Regions from separate parts of the Homo sapiens genome. Here region 2 is linked to region 1. Evidence: promoter capture Hi-C in 16 types of primary human blood cells and fetal thymus (Javierre and others, 2016). All regions are on one chromosome and are shown on one strand. Each heading gives the region's core, a stretch centred on a gene start or on the middle of the fragment in contact. The rest is flanking DNA. Distances are from core to core; before and after follow the strand shown.

What was found. Contacts are between HindIII fragments. The CHiCAGO score rates a contact against its expected background, and 5 or more counts as called.
Region 2: a contact is called between a fragment that was not itself captured here and the fragment with the promoter of F2RL1 in region 1, in 1 of 17 cell types (endothelial precursors). The highest score is 5.2, in endothelial precursors.

The regions. Positions count from the first base shown.
Region 1 is chr5:76,817,745-76,824,166 of GRCh38, forward strand. F2RL1 (F2R like trypsin receptor 1) reads left to right here and starts at 1,286. Exons shown (of 2, transcript NM_005242.6): 1 at 1,286-1,520. The coding sequence starts at 1,439. RefSeq lists enhancers at 1,002-1,619, 1,620-2,237 and a silencer at 1,020-1,314. The HindIII fragment of the contact is 1,972 bases long and covers 757-2,728 here.
Region 2 is chr5:76,597,968-76,603,803 of GRCh38, forward strand. IQGAP2 (IQ motif containing GTPase activating protein 2) reads left to right here. Exons shown (of 36, transcript NM_006633.5): 11 at 2,845-3,005. Among named protein-coding and RNA genes, the nearest start is that of F2RL2, 23 kb to the right of the region's middle. The HindIII fragment of the contact is 294 bases long and covers 4,049-4,342 here.

The DNA of each region.
Region 1 (6,422 bases), core at 36-2,535:
TCCTTTAAATATTTGAAAATACCTATGTCTCTCTTCTGTGCTCTTCTGGTACCAATAGTTTAAATGGGTAACAGTAGACTTTGTTTTATTCAATCTTTTAAAAAGCAAATAAAAAGTAAGACATGCTGGGTGCGGTGGCTCACGCCTGTAATCGCAGCACTTTGGGAGGCGGAGGTGGGCTGATCACGAGGTCAGGAGTTCGAGACTAGCCAGACCAACATGGTGAAACCCCGCCTCTACTAAAAATACAAAAATTAGCCAGATGTGGTGCACGCCTGTAACTCCAGCTACTCGGGAGGCTGCGGCCAGAGAATTGCTTGAACCCAGGAGACAAAGTTTGCAGTGAGCCGAGATCACGCCACTGCACTCCAGCCTGGGAGACAGAGCGAGACTCCGTCTCAAAAACAAAAAGTAAGACATTACCAATATGATGCCAACCCTCATGCACTCATCCCCAACCCCACACTTCTCTTCTCCCACCCCTTCTATCTGCTTTTGTATTTATTTAGCCTATGGGATCCCAATGCAGAGGAGCCCTGGTGGACGCATTTATAGTGCAGCGATGAATAGAAGACAGTGATAGTCTTATACTGGAGTTGAAATGTGATAAACATTTATACACTGTGTTTATAAGTCGTGTAACTCTGGCCAATTTATCTGGTCTTTCTAAGCTCACTTTCCTCGTCTGTAAAATGGGAAGAATAATCATACTTATTGCGCTGGTTGTTATGGGGATTAAGCAAGATAATTCTCTAAAGCTTTGGCACTTGGCGCTGAAAGTAGCCATTCCATGTCTTCTTTCCCGCCCCGCCTCTTGTGCTCCCCACCGCTTTCGTGATGTCCGCAGTTGCCCACCTGCCTCTACAATAAAAAACGCATCCCTCCTCCTGCAGGGTCCACCGCACCGGGAAGCCCTGTCTGTATCAGTTACCAACCACAATTGCAGTGAGTACGAATCGTGGCTTTCCCACAGTCAGGAAAGGCAAGGGAGACCGACGACCCGCTTCTCTAGGAGTAAGTAAAGATTAAAGGTAGTTCGCGGTATAGCCTAGGCAGGGATTAACCCGTGGTCCCAGCGCTCCTGCTATTTGCATTCCAAAGCAGACACCTCATGCGCTCAACCCCGCCCGCAGGCGGCTCCCGCAGTCTAAGGGACCTGGCGCGAGTCCGGGAAGCGGAGGGCGCAGCTGCGCAGGGAAGGGGGCCGGGGGCGGGACCAGGGCGCGCGTTCCGGTCCCGGGGCGTGGCCTCCCGCAGGTGAGTACGCTGCTCCTTCGGTTTCCCTGAAACCTAACCCGCCCTGGGGAGGCGCGCAGCAGAGGCTCCGATTCGGGGCAGGTGAGAGGCTGACTTTCTCTCGGTGCGTCCAGTGGAGCTCTGAGTTTCGAATCGGCGGCGGCGGATTCCCCGCGCGCCCGGCGTCGGGGCTTCCAGGAGGATGCGGAGCCCCAGCGCGGCGTGGCTGCTGGGGGCCGCCATCCTGCTAGCAGCCTCTCTCTCCTGCAGTGGCACCATCCAAGGTGAGAAACCTGGCCAAGGAGGGCTCTTATCTCTGAGGAGCTGGGGTCCTGGGCACGCTGGGCAGACGGTGGGATCCGGGCAGGTGTGCGAAGGCTGTTCTGCTGCCGGCACCCATCTCTACGAATCCCTTAGCCTCCCCTTGGTGGCTTTGATGTGAGGTCTCTGCGCCAAGGAGGCACCCAGGTGGGACATGCGGGAGCAGCTGAAGTCAGCGGAGCCGGGCAGAGGCAGAGATTTCCCCAAAGACCCCACTTCCCGTAGAGGCTGTCATGCTGGGCACCTCCAGGCCCCAGCGTGGGTTCGGGGAAAGGGAGGGAAGGAAGGAGTAGCTGTGTCTAAAGGGTACGCAGAGGACCTAGTCCCCTCCCCGGGCTTGGTTGCTTTGTAAACACTAAGTCATTAAGAGCTTTTTGCCAACTCCGGAGACTTCCTCCGCTGGCCCCGCGGGGCCGGTGGGGTTAGCGAGCTGATTGCGCAGGGCAGGGCGGAGTGGGTGGGAACCCGCGGCCCGGGAGCCTTCTAGGTTGTTTTTTGCGTCCCTCTCCAACTGCTGGAAGCCTTTCTTCGGGTTCTGGCCCCTGCGTTCGAGACCCACCCGGGTCCCGCTGCTCCTGGCACCCACAGTGGAAGGCCCGGGGTATGAAAGTCAGGGCCGGTCCCTGATGGGTTCTGGTGGTAATGAGCGCTCAGGCCCGTTGGGCGCCACGAGGATTTACGAGCGGAACTTTTTGGACCCTGCCTTATATTTGACCAGTTGACCCTCTGGGCCTGGGGTTCCGGGACTTTCCTAGTGTGCCACCCGGAGCGGCCACTGGCTGCCACCCAGGTCTGCAGGCCAGAGGCTGGCTGGCCTGGGAACAGAGCAGCACTTGCGCCCGGCCGTCGCGTTCCTTGGATGTGCTGCTCCGGGTGTGCTCGAACTTGTATTGCTGGGAGTGTGTTCTTCCGGGCCCAGCAGGCCTCGCTGTGGCCGTGGGGGATGTTTGACCTGCGATCGCGCCACTGTGATCCTAACCGAGGCCCCTCTGTTTGGGGCAGCCTGGGTAGCAAAGGGAGCTTTTAATTTCCCTCAGAAATGCGCATTTCTCACTTTTATCCTCCTCTTCATAAAGACGAAGTAAAAGAGCAAGTCACAGTGGGTTGGAATTAGATGGAAGAATGTGATTCTTTTCCCTCTGCAGTTAGGGAAAAGGGTGTTAATGGTGTAAGCTTGAAAACTGTGCACCGCTGGTATATTTTTTTTTCTTAATCAGCATCAGAATAAAGGCATTTAGTTCCAGGAAGTATTGAAAACTGTAATGGACACCTCTCCTCTATGTCCTTTAAAGTTGGAAACTTAAAATTCAGGAGCAAAGGTTAGTATGTGCAAACTTTAAAAAAATACATGTTGGTATAGCTGATTCAACATCTTTATGATTCAGAGATCCCTGTAGGAAGCATGCCCCGATTATTTGTCTTGTTCTTGTTTACTACTCTTGGGGGATTGGGAGATCCCTGGATTATAAGGCGAACTTGATTTAACAATAAGGAAAAATCAGGTTACTTGTTAACTATAGCCACTTAATATTGCACCTTGTTCCTCATCCTCCCCCCACCATACTTTTATTCCCTTGCAAAGTAACTTTCCCAAAGGGTTAGTGAAGTAACACTGACAATTGATTTAGGCAGATGGAGCTTTCCTCCCACCTTAAAACTAAATTGATTTTAATAAGAAATACAGTGTTAGCAAAGCTTTTCTGCCCTCAGGGTGGGTCTTTGCTCACTCGCTTTTTAGCCGGTCCTTCTGCGTGCCCCTCAGGTGGCTGCAGGGCCGATTTGGGGTTTGATTTTCTTCCCAAAGCCTCACTCCAAAAGACTGCCTCATAGAAACGAACTCAGCCGAGATCACAACCTTCTCAGGGTACAGGTGAAGGACACTGAATTGAGGAGGCAAGGCAAGGAAAACACTTGGAAATCAGGGCTTCTCTTTCCCTTTACAATAGTAATTGATAATTATTTGGGTAAACATGCTTAATATGTGTCCTCACTGCATCGTTAACTCCTGGAGGCAGGGGGCCCTACCATCCTTTCCATCACGTCTAGCATAGTCTCATCACCTACGGGACCTCAGTAAATAGCAAATGAATGAAGTGAGGAGTCTTGCCCAGAGTACCCTGGCTGGTCCATGTGGTGTTCATTTCAGTCAGCTTCTCTCTGCCACTTACTTATTTTTTTCCACCATGTTACAGGCCTAGGTCATTCCATTTATCTTTTGGAGACTGGAACTTCTGTTTTCTTTATAATTGGTTTGGTGGTTTTTTTTTGTTTTTTTGGTTTTTTGGGTTTTTTTTTTTTTTGACTCTCATTCGGTTGCCCAGGCTTGAGTGCAGTGGTGCAATTTTGGCTCATTGCAACCTCCACCTCTCCCGGGCTCAAGGAAGTCTCCTGCTGCAGCCTCCCGAGTAGCTGGGACGACAGGCACGCACCACCACCCCCAGCTAATTTTTGTATTTTTAGTAGAGACAGGGTTTCACCATATTGGTCAGGCTGATCTCAAACTCCTGACCTCAGGTGATCCACCCACCTTCAGCCTCCCAAAGTGCTGGGATTACAGGCATGAGCTACTGCGCCCTACCTATAATTGTTTTTTAAATTATAAAAACAATATGTGATCACTCGAGGGAAAAATGAGCCAAAACAAAAAAAGGAAACATTTAATTAAATCACCCTGAACTTCAGTACCAAAGTAGCCACCGCTAATATTTCGGCTTATATATTTTCCCACTCTTTATTACATCCATGCACAAAATATGTATTCACAAATACAGAAAATATGTTTGTGCAAGTATGGGATTATATAAGCACATCAGTATCATGTCAATACATATAAAACATTTTTAATGACTCCAAAATGTTACAGAAGGATGCATCAATTTTAAAATTAGTCCTTTGTTGATAGACATGTGGTATTTCCATTTTTTTTTTCCCCCTGAGATAGAATCTCACTCTGTTGCCCAGGCTGTAGTGCAGTGGCACGATCTCGGCTCACTGCAACCTCTGCCTCCCAGGTTTAAGTGATTCTCATGCCTCAGCCTCTGGAGTAGCTGGGACTACAGGCGCACACCACCACATCCAACTAATTTTTGTGTTTTTGGTATAAACGGGGTTTCGCCACGTTGGCCAGGCTGATCTTGAACTCCTGACCTCAAGTGATCCACCTGCCTCAGCCTCCCAAAGTGCTGGGATTATAGGCATGAGCCACCGTGCCTGGCCAAAGTTTTGTAATATGACAGAACACTGCAATGAACTGGAAGATAGGACTTTAAATTTGATCCTTTTGCTTGCTTTGTAGTTACTAAATAACCTTGATAGATGATGTTTTAGTAAATCTGTATTTGACTTTCTTATGGTTTTATTAGCTTGGCAAGTGTTGAAGAAAACAGTTCATTCTGAAAGAACACTTCTGAAAATGTACTAAAAGTTTAGCTAGGGAGGGGCACCCCACAATTGAAACCTTTATTTTTCAGTCTGTGCTCCCAAAGATTGGGAGCAAAAAAGGACATTTGGGGTGAGGGGATCATAGAGAAGAGAGGGTGAAAGGAAGAGAACTAATGCAAGTAAAGTGCTTGTTTTACACTTGGTTTGATGGGGAGGTTGGGCCACAAGAGGAGTATACTTAAAATAAAAATTAAATTAAAAGTTTTAGGCCAAGCGTGGTGGCTCACGCCTGTAATCCCAGCACTTTGGAAGTCAAGGCGGGTGGATCACAAGGTCAGGAGATCAAGACCATCCTGGCTAACATGGTGAAACCCTGTCTCTACTAAAAATACAAAAAATTAGCCGGGCATGGTGGCGGGCGCCTGTAGTCCCAGCTGCTTGGGAGGCTGAGGCAGGAGAATGGCGTGAACCCGGGAGGTCGAGCTTGCAGTGAGCCGAGATCGTGCCTCTGCACTCCAGCCGGGGCAACAGAGTGAGACTCAGTCTCAAAAAAAAAAAAAAGTTTTACACGCAGATTTTCCCAAAATTGTGTAAATCAGAAGGGTCTAAAAAAAAGTGAAAATCTCTCATTCTTTCTGGTCTCCAATCTCAGCACAACTTCTCGGGTTTTGTTTGTTTGGTTGGTTGGTTTTTTTTTTTTTTTTTTGAGATGGAGTCTCGCTGTGTCGCCCAGGCTGGAGGGCTGGAGTGCAGTGATGTGATCTCAGCTCACTGCAACCTGCGCTTTCCAGGTTGAAGTGATTCTCCTGCCTCAGCCTCTCAAGTAGATGGGATTACAGATGCGCGCCAACACCTCCAGCTAATTTTTGCATTTTTAGTAAAGCCAGAATTTTGCCATGTTGGCCAGGCTGGTCTTGAATTCCTGACCTCAAGTGATCCGCCCGCCTTGGCCTCCCAAAGTGCTGGGATTATAGGTGTGAGTCACTATTCCTGGCCATCAGCTCAACTTCTCTATGCACAAATGATTTATAGGAATAGAAGGAGCATACCGTACTGTACATACTGTGCTATGATTTATTTATCTTTTTTACCTAATCGATTCATAGTCAGTTTATAGAAATCTGTACAAACTTTTTTTTTTTTTTTTTGAGACGGAGTCTTGCCGTGTCGCCCAGGCTGGAGTGAAGGGGCGCTATCTCAGCTCGCTGTAAGCTCTGCCTCCCGGGTTCATGCCATTCTCCTGCCACAGCCTCCCAAGCAGCTGGGACTACAGACGCCCGCCACCATGCCCGGCTAATTTTTTGTATTTTTAGTAGAGACAGGGTTTAACCGTGTTAGCCAGGATGGTCTCGGTCTCCTGACCTCGTGACCCACCTGCCTCGGCCTCCCAAAGTGCTGGGATTACAGGCGTGAGCCACTGCGCCGACCCTGTACAAACTTTTATAGGGGGGTAATTGAACTAGTCCTCCCCACCACACCCCCCC
Region 2 (5,836 bases), core at 2,946-5,445, 220 kb before region 1:
GCAATTTTAGAAACTGCAAATAAGACCATTAGCACCATGGCTTTGATTTTTGTGAACTTGTGCACCTTAATATGACAACAGCATTCAACAATAATTTCATACAAGGTTACAGTAATTAAGAACATGTTTACTAACACTCTTGTAAGCCAAACAATGAAACAAAATGAAAACTACTGAAAGCAGAACCAAGAATTCAGCATATAACAAGGCTCGTATTTCAAGAAGGTGGGGAAACAACTATTTAATAAATGATATCCTTGCAAGTGTTTAAGCTTTGTTAAGAAAACATTAACTCACTACACATATATCAAAATAAATTTTCAACATAAAATGTTAAATATAAAAAATAATTTAACAAATTAAAGTTCTAAGGAAAAACACAGGACAGTCATTGGATCTTTAAAGTCACAATCAGCACTTATCCACACACAATAAAGAGAGGCCAAAAACATGAGCAGGCAATTCATAAAACAAGAACTATACAAATGACAAACAAAAAAAAAGTTTAAACTCAATCAGAAGTAAAAAATATATAAATTAAAACACAGTACACTTATGATTTAAAATTAGATTGGTAAAGATTAGAAAGATTTAACCCAGCGTAGGGATAGATATGGGGCCCAAACATCTCCTACACAGCTGCTGGGAGTATGAATTATACAGATTTTCTGCAGGGTGGTCTTAGTAATACAGATCAAAAGCCCATGATGCTGACAGTTACGTTCTAGAAAATAAGCCTGAAGGATATGAACCAAATAGCTTTGGCCACAGAGATGTTTCACAGCATTGTTTAGAATACTGAAAACCAGGAAACAAATGTTTAATTAATAACAGATTGCCTATAAATTAATAACATTTATGGTGCTTGTACATGTGAGAAATATGTGCAACCAGTAAAAATGATAATGTAAAGAATGACTGGAAAAGATATCCATACTAATATTAAGTGGGAAAAATAAGATTAAGATATATAGCATTATCTTGTTTTTTGCAAAAAGAAAGTGAAGTCAGTTATAAAGACAAAACCTCTGCAAATGTATATATGAATTTAAAATACATAAAAGGATATACACAAAAGAGCTTGAGTGGTAGCATTTGTTTTCTTATTCTTGCTTACTAAGACTTCTGTATTGGCTGAGTGTGGTAGTTCCTGTCTGTAATCTTAGCACTTTGGGAGGCTGAGACAGGAGGATCACTTGAGGCCAGGAGTTCAAGACCAACCTGGGCAACATAGGCCTCATCTTTACAAAAATAATAATAATAATTAAAAAGACTCCCTATGTTTCCTAAATAGAAATATAGTATTTGTAATAAAAGAAAAATAGCTTATTTTCTTAATTTCATTCAGGTTCTCTCATTAATATTTTCTTCCACTTCTCTGGCTCTGAAGCTCAAGGCTACTTATGCTTGAGGACACTCATTCATCCTCAACTGGCCATAGTTAACCTGTGGCTGTCCAACCTCATTTCTTCTTCCTCTCTCCTTATCCTTTTTGCTGTAAACCAATTTAGGTATCCACGGACAGGTCACTGAAAGAGATAGAGGAGGTGAATTATAAACGATTCCATTCTGCTCTTATAATTTGATACTTTGTATGTTAAACTTGTATTTAATGTAATATATTTAAATAAAATTTACTTACATGCTCTCGATGGTAACCCCTTCTTCCCATTTGCTTTGAAAGATTAAACTATCCCTTTTTATTCTGAAATCAGTTTGCTGCGAGACTTCTGTGGAGATCCAGAAAGATATAATAATGCATTTTAAGATGAACATTATGTTATATATTAAATACCTGTAATATCCTAAATGTAAAATATGTATCAGCTTTTCCTTAGTGGTTCTTTTTCATGCTCCTGCTCCTTATGTCCCTTCAATATGATGAAAAAAATATTCCTTTTGAAGTTGGGCCAAGATAATATAAAATGGTTAAATGGAAGAAGATATTAAAGGGGAAGGGTGTTCTGAAATCTAAGACGTATTTTTTTGGATAAGCTAAATCCAGATTTTAAATCATATAAACCTGGAGATCTGGCCAGGTGTGGTGATTCATGCCTGTAATCCCAGCACTTTGGGAGGCTGAGGCAGAAGAATCGCTTGAACCTGGGAGGCGGAGGCTGCAGTGAGCCTAGATCGTGCCATTGCACCCCAGCCTGGGCAACAAGAGCCAAACTCCATCTCAAAAAATAATAATAATAAAAATAAAGCAAACCAAACCAAACAAAAAAACCTGGAGAGCTTTACTTGCTTTACCAAAAGATCACCTCAGATTTCTTCAAATATCTTGACCTGGTAGTGTATTTTAAAATTTCTATTTTAAAATTTATGAAAATGTCACTTTAACTTTTTTTGAATTAAATCAGTAGTCTTGGTTTGAAGACCTTGCTTTGTGCTTCAGATTATAACTTTTCAGTGAAATTCTCCCAACCTTCCCTTAACCCTTAATTCAAACTGGAAATCGTTAGCTGTGCTAAAATGTTACCTGGCACTCTCAGTCAGTGACAATGTTATCTAGTCCTTGGCTTAATTATATGGCTGGACTGAGCCTTTAAGCAACCAGTATAGCTAGGAGTAGGGATCAGCAATGGGAATGCAGATATTTGTGGAATCGTAACTTTTCATTGTAATCAACCCAGTCCCAAAAAATGATCATCTAATGAAAGCCCAGGAGCCATATACCTGTTCTTAAAGCCAGTGGAAAGCAGGTGGCCACGACTCCTCTTTCTGCTGAGCTATCAAGTTCTTTGACTTTTTGTTGTTTGTTGAAATGTGCATTGTAAACCTCCATCATGCACATGAGGTGTGTTGTGTGGGGAGCTTATGTTGCCATATGTTTTCCAACAGAACTACTTGGCCCACGAGGAGCTTTTGATTGCTGTGGAAATGTTGTCTGCTGTTGCTTTACTAAACCAGGCCTTGGAAAGCAACGATCTTGTGTCTGTGCAGAATCAACTCAGAAGCCCCGCAATAGGCTTAAACAATCTGGACAAGGCATATGTGGAACGGTAAGGAACATTTTCCAAACCTTCTTTCAATGCAGAAATGCATGTTTGGCAGATCTTAAAAGTGAGGAATTTGCCTGTTGGTGGAGAAATCCATATACCATGCTCATGTTTCTTGAAAACTAGTCTGTTTTAAGAGTCCTTCTAATTAGTATCCTTGTTTACAGTATTCCTTCTGGGGAACAAGAAGAATCAGAAAGTGATCATCCTGTGGCAATTAATAAATGACTTTGTCGTTGGCAAAGATTATTTGATAGGCTGAAAATAAAGGAACTATTGGAAACATACCTTTCCTTGGGCGTCTTTTGGAAACCGCAGAATGTAGAAGAGTTGGAAGCAACTTTAATAATCATCCAGTCCAATTCTTTTATGTCACTGATGCAGAAACAGAATCCGGGTTATGGACCTAAAATTGGGCAGTTGGGCCCCAAACTCCACTCTTCTGATTATTAAGCCAAAGAAATCCTGAGACCACAGTGGGTCATGGCAGTGGGTAACAACATCCATTTATCTTTCATTTCATGTTTCTGAAGTGTGCTACCAGATAGTACAACTGATAGCATTGTTATAAAACACTATAGCGGATCTTGAGAGAAAATCAAATGGCCAGAATTGGGAGCCAGATGAGAGAGTCGCTGAGATAAAAGCCCCAGTTAAAATGAGTGAATCTTGGATTCTTGTAACCACCAGGGGGAGATGTCTGCACAGATCTTGACAAAAGCTCTTTTCAGCTACTGATTTTGGAACGGCTCTAATAGGCAGGTTGGCTAATTCTCTTGGGTCATGTACAGTTGCCAAGGAAAAACCAGAGATTTCTTAGGTTAAACAAATGGTATTTGACCACTTGTCTATGTAGTGAATGGCCAAAAGGTAATGGAAGGATGGTGGGTTTTCCTTGTTTTTAGTCTTTTTGGAGAAACTAATTCTCTTGTTCTACTTAAATTTGGCCATCTGGTTCATATGACTCCTTAGAGTGTGTTTCCAAGGTAATTTATATCTACCACCACTGTTTCTGTTACTTGTTAATGGCACCATTCTCTCCTGTAAGCTTAGAAACCTGAAGCCCAATTTGAGTTTCCCTCTGCCCTCAGCCGGGCACCCTCGTGCTCTAAAGAGCCTGCTGTCAGTAGCCAGTCTATGTGCCTTATACCTCTGCAAGATGTTTCCATTTCCCTGCAACCACCCTCACTTAGACTTCTCACTTTTGCTTCTGTAGTAACCCCTAAATTGGTCATCCTACTTCTTTTCTCTCCCCATTCATTAATCATTCCTACCTAACCAGGCTTTGCCATACTTTCTCAGTGCTAGAGTAGAAGACAGACCCGGTCAATCCCTTATGAAGCTTACAGGCTAATGGGGCATCTTGGTGAGATAACTGTCAAGACTATTCCACATATTTAGCATCCCTGGCAACTGTCCTCCACATGACATTAGCCCCTGACTCACCCATTCTGATTATCAAAAATGCCTGCTTCTTCATTTACAAATACCCTTAAAGAAGTGGTCCCATTCTATTTGAAAACCATATTCATACCTGTAGTTTCCAGCTGGGACCTACAGATGGAGCCTCACAGTTCGAGTGTTCTGTGTGAAGAACTTTTAAAATGTTTTGATTTTTTTTTTTTAATTTAAATACATTCTGGATCTGGAAGACCCAGTACTGACATGGGATTTAAGGGCCCACTTGGGTTCTTGTATTGACACTTGTATTGGCCCCAAATGATCTTCTACAGCCTTGGCATTTTACTTCCAAAGTCAGCATCTTAACTTGGGATCTTGGAATCCCAGTTTTGCAGATTATCAAGTTTGAGAAACACGGCTCTGTCCAGGGCCTCTCCCCATAGAGTGCAGGTTCTTCATAGCACAAGTGTGCTGTGCATGGCCACCTTGACAAATTCATGCAAAGTCTCTCCCTGTTCACCGTGGCTTCTACTCTTGGGGCTGTGTTTGCCCAGAGAGATTCTTTTGTCTAATTCTCACAAAAGTATTGTATGGGTTAACATTAGCCTTGGGCATACACTGTTCCCAGATTAACTGTTCTAAAATGTAACCCTATTCATAATTCTGTTTGATTGTTCCTTGTTCACATCCGAATTAAGAACAGACTTCTCATTCTAAGCATGTTGCTCTGACCTTACCTCCAGCTCCATCCCTACTCGTATTTTGTGCTTTAGCCAAGTCCAAGTGTACTTTCTGGTCTCTGTGTTCCTATGCGTGGTCCTCTCACCATCAGGAACTTGGTGCCTTTACCCAGCTCAGCTAAACACAGTATTGGAGCTTCTGAGCCCTGCCTACCATACATTATGTTCTGTGAGGTATATCCGTGCTTCTCCCCACCCTAGCATCTGATGTTATCTCTCCTGGGAGGTAGCATGATGTGGTTAAAGGAGCATATGCCTTGGAACCAAAAATATCTGAGATTGACCCTCCCTAACTAAGCCTTTTTCCTTCATCTATAAAGCACAAAAACAAAAGAAACAAAAGCCCCACTCTGCATTTGCAGAACTGTTTTGAGGATTTAGTGTTTGGTTCAGTGCCTGTCCCAGGGAGGGTGCTCCACCAATAAGGGTTTCCTTCCACTTCTTGCTTTGAACCCCATTATATCTACTCTTATGGACTCTTTAATGGTCCTTCCTGTGCTCTGCTTTTATACCTTTTTGGAATTTTTGTCGTCTTACCCACTGGTCTGAAAGCATAAAGGCTGCACCTTTTTCCTCCTAATATTCCTGTAGTGCCTGCCATGTTTTACATGTAGTAAGTGCTCACAAACATCTGCTGAACTAAATTGGATTACTGATCTTCTCAGAGCTTCCCAGGGCTCTTAGATTAGTAGA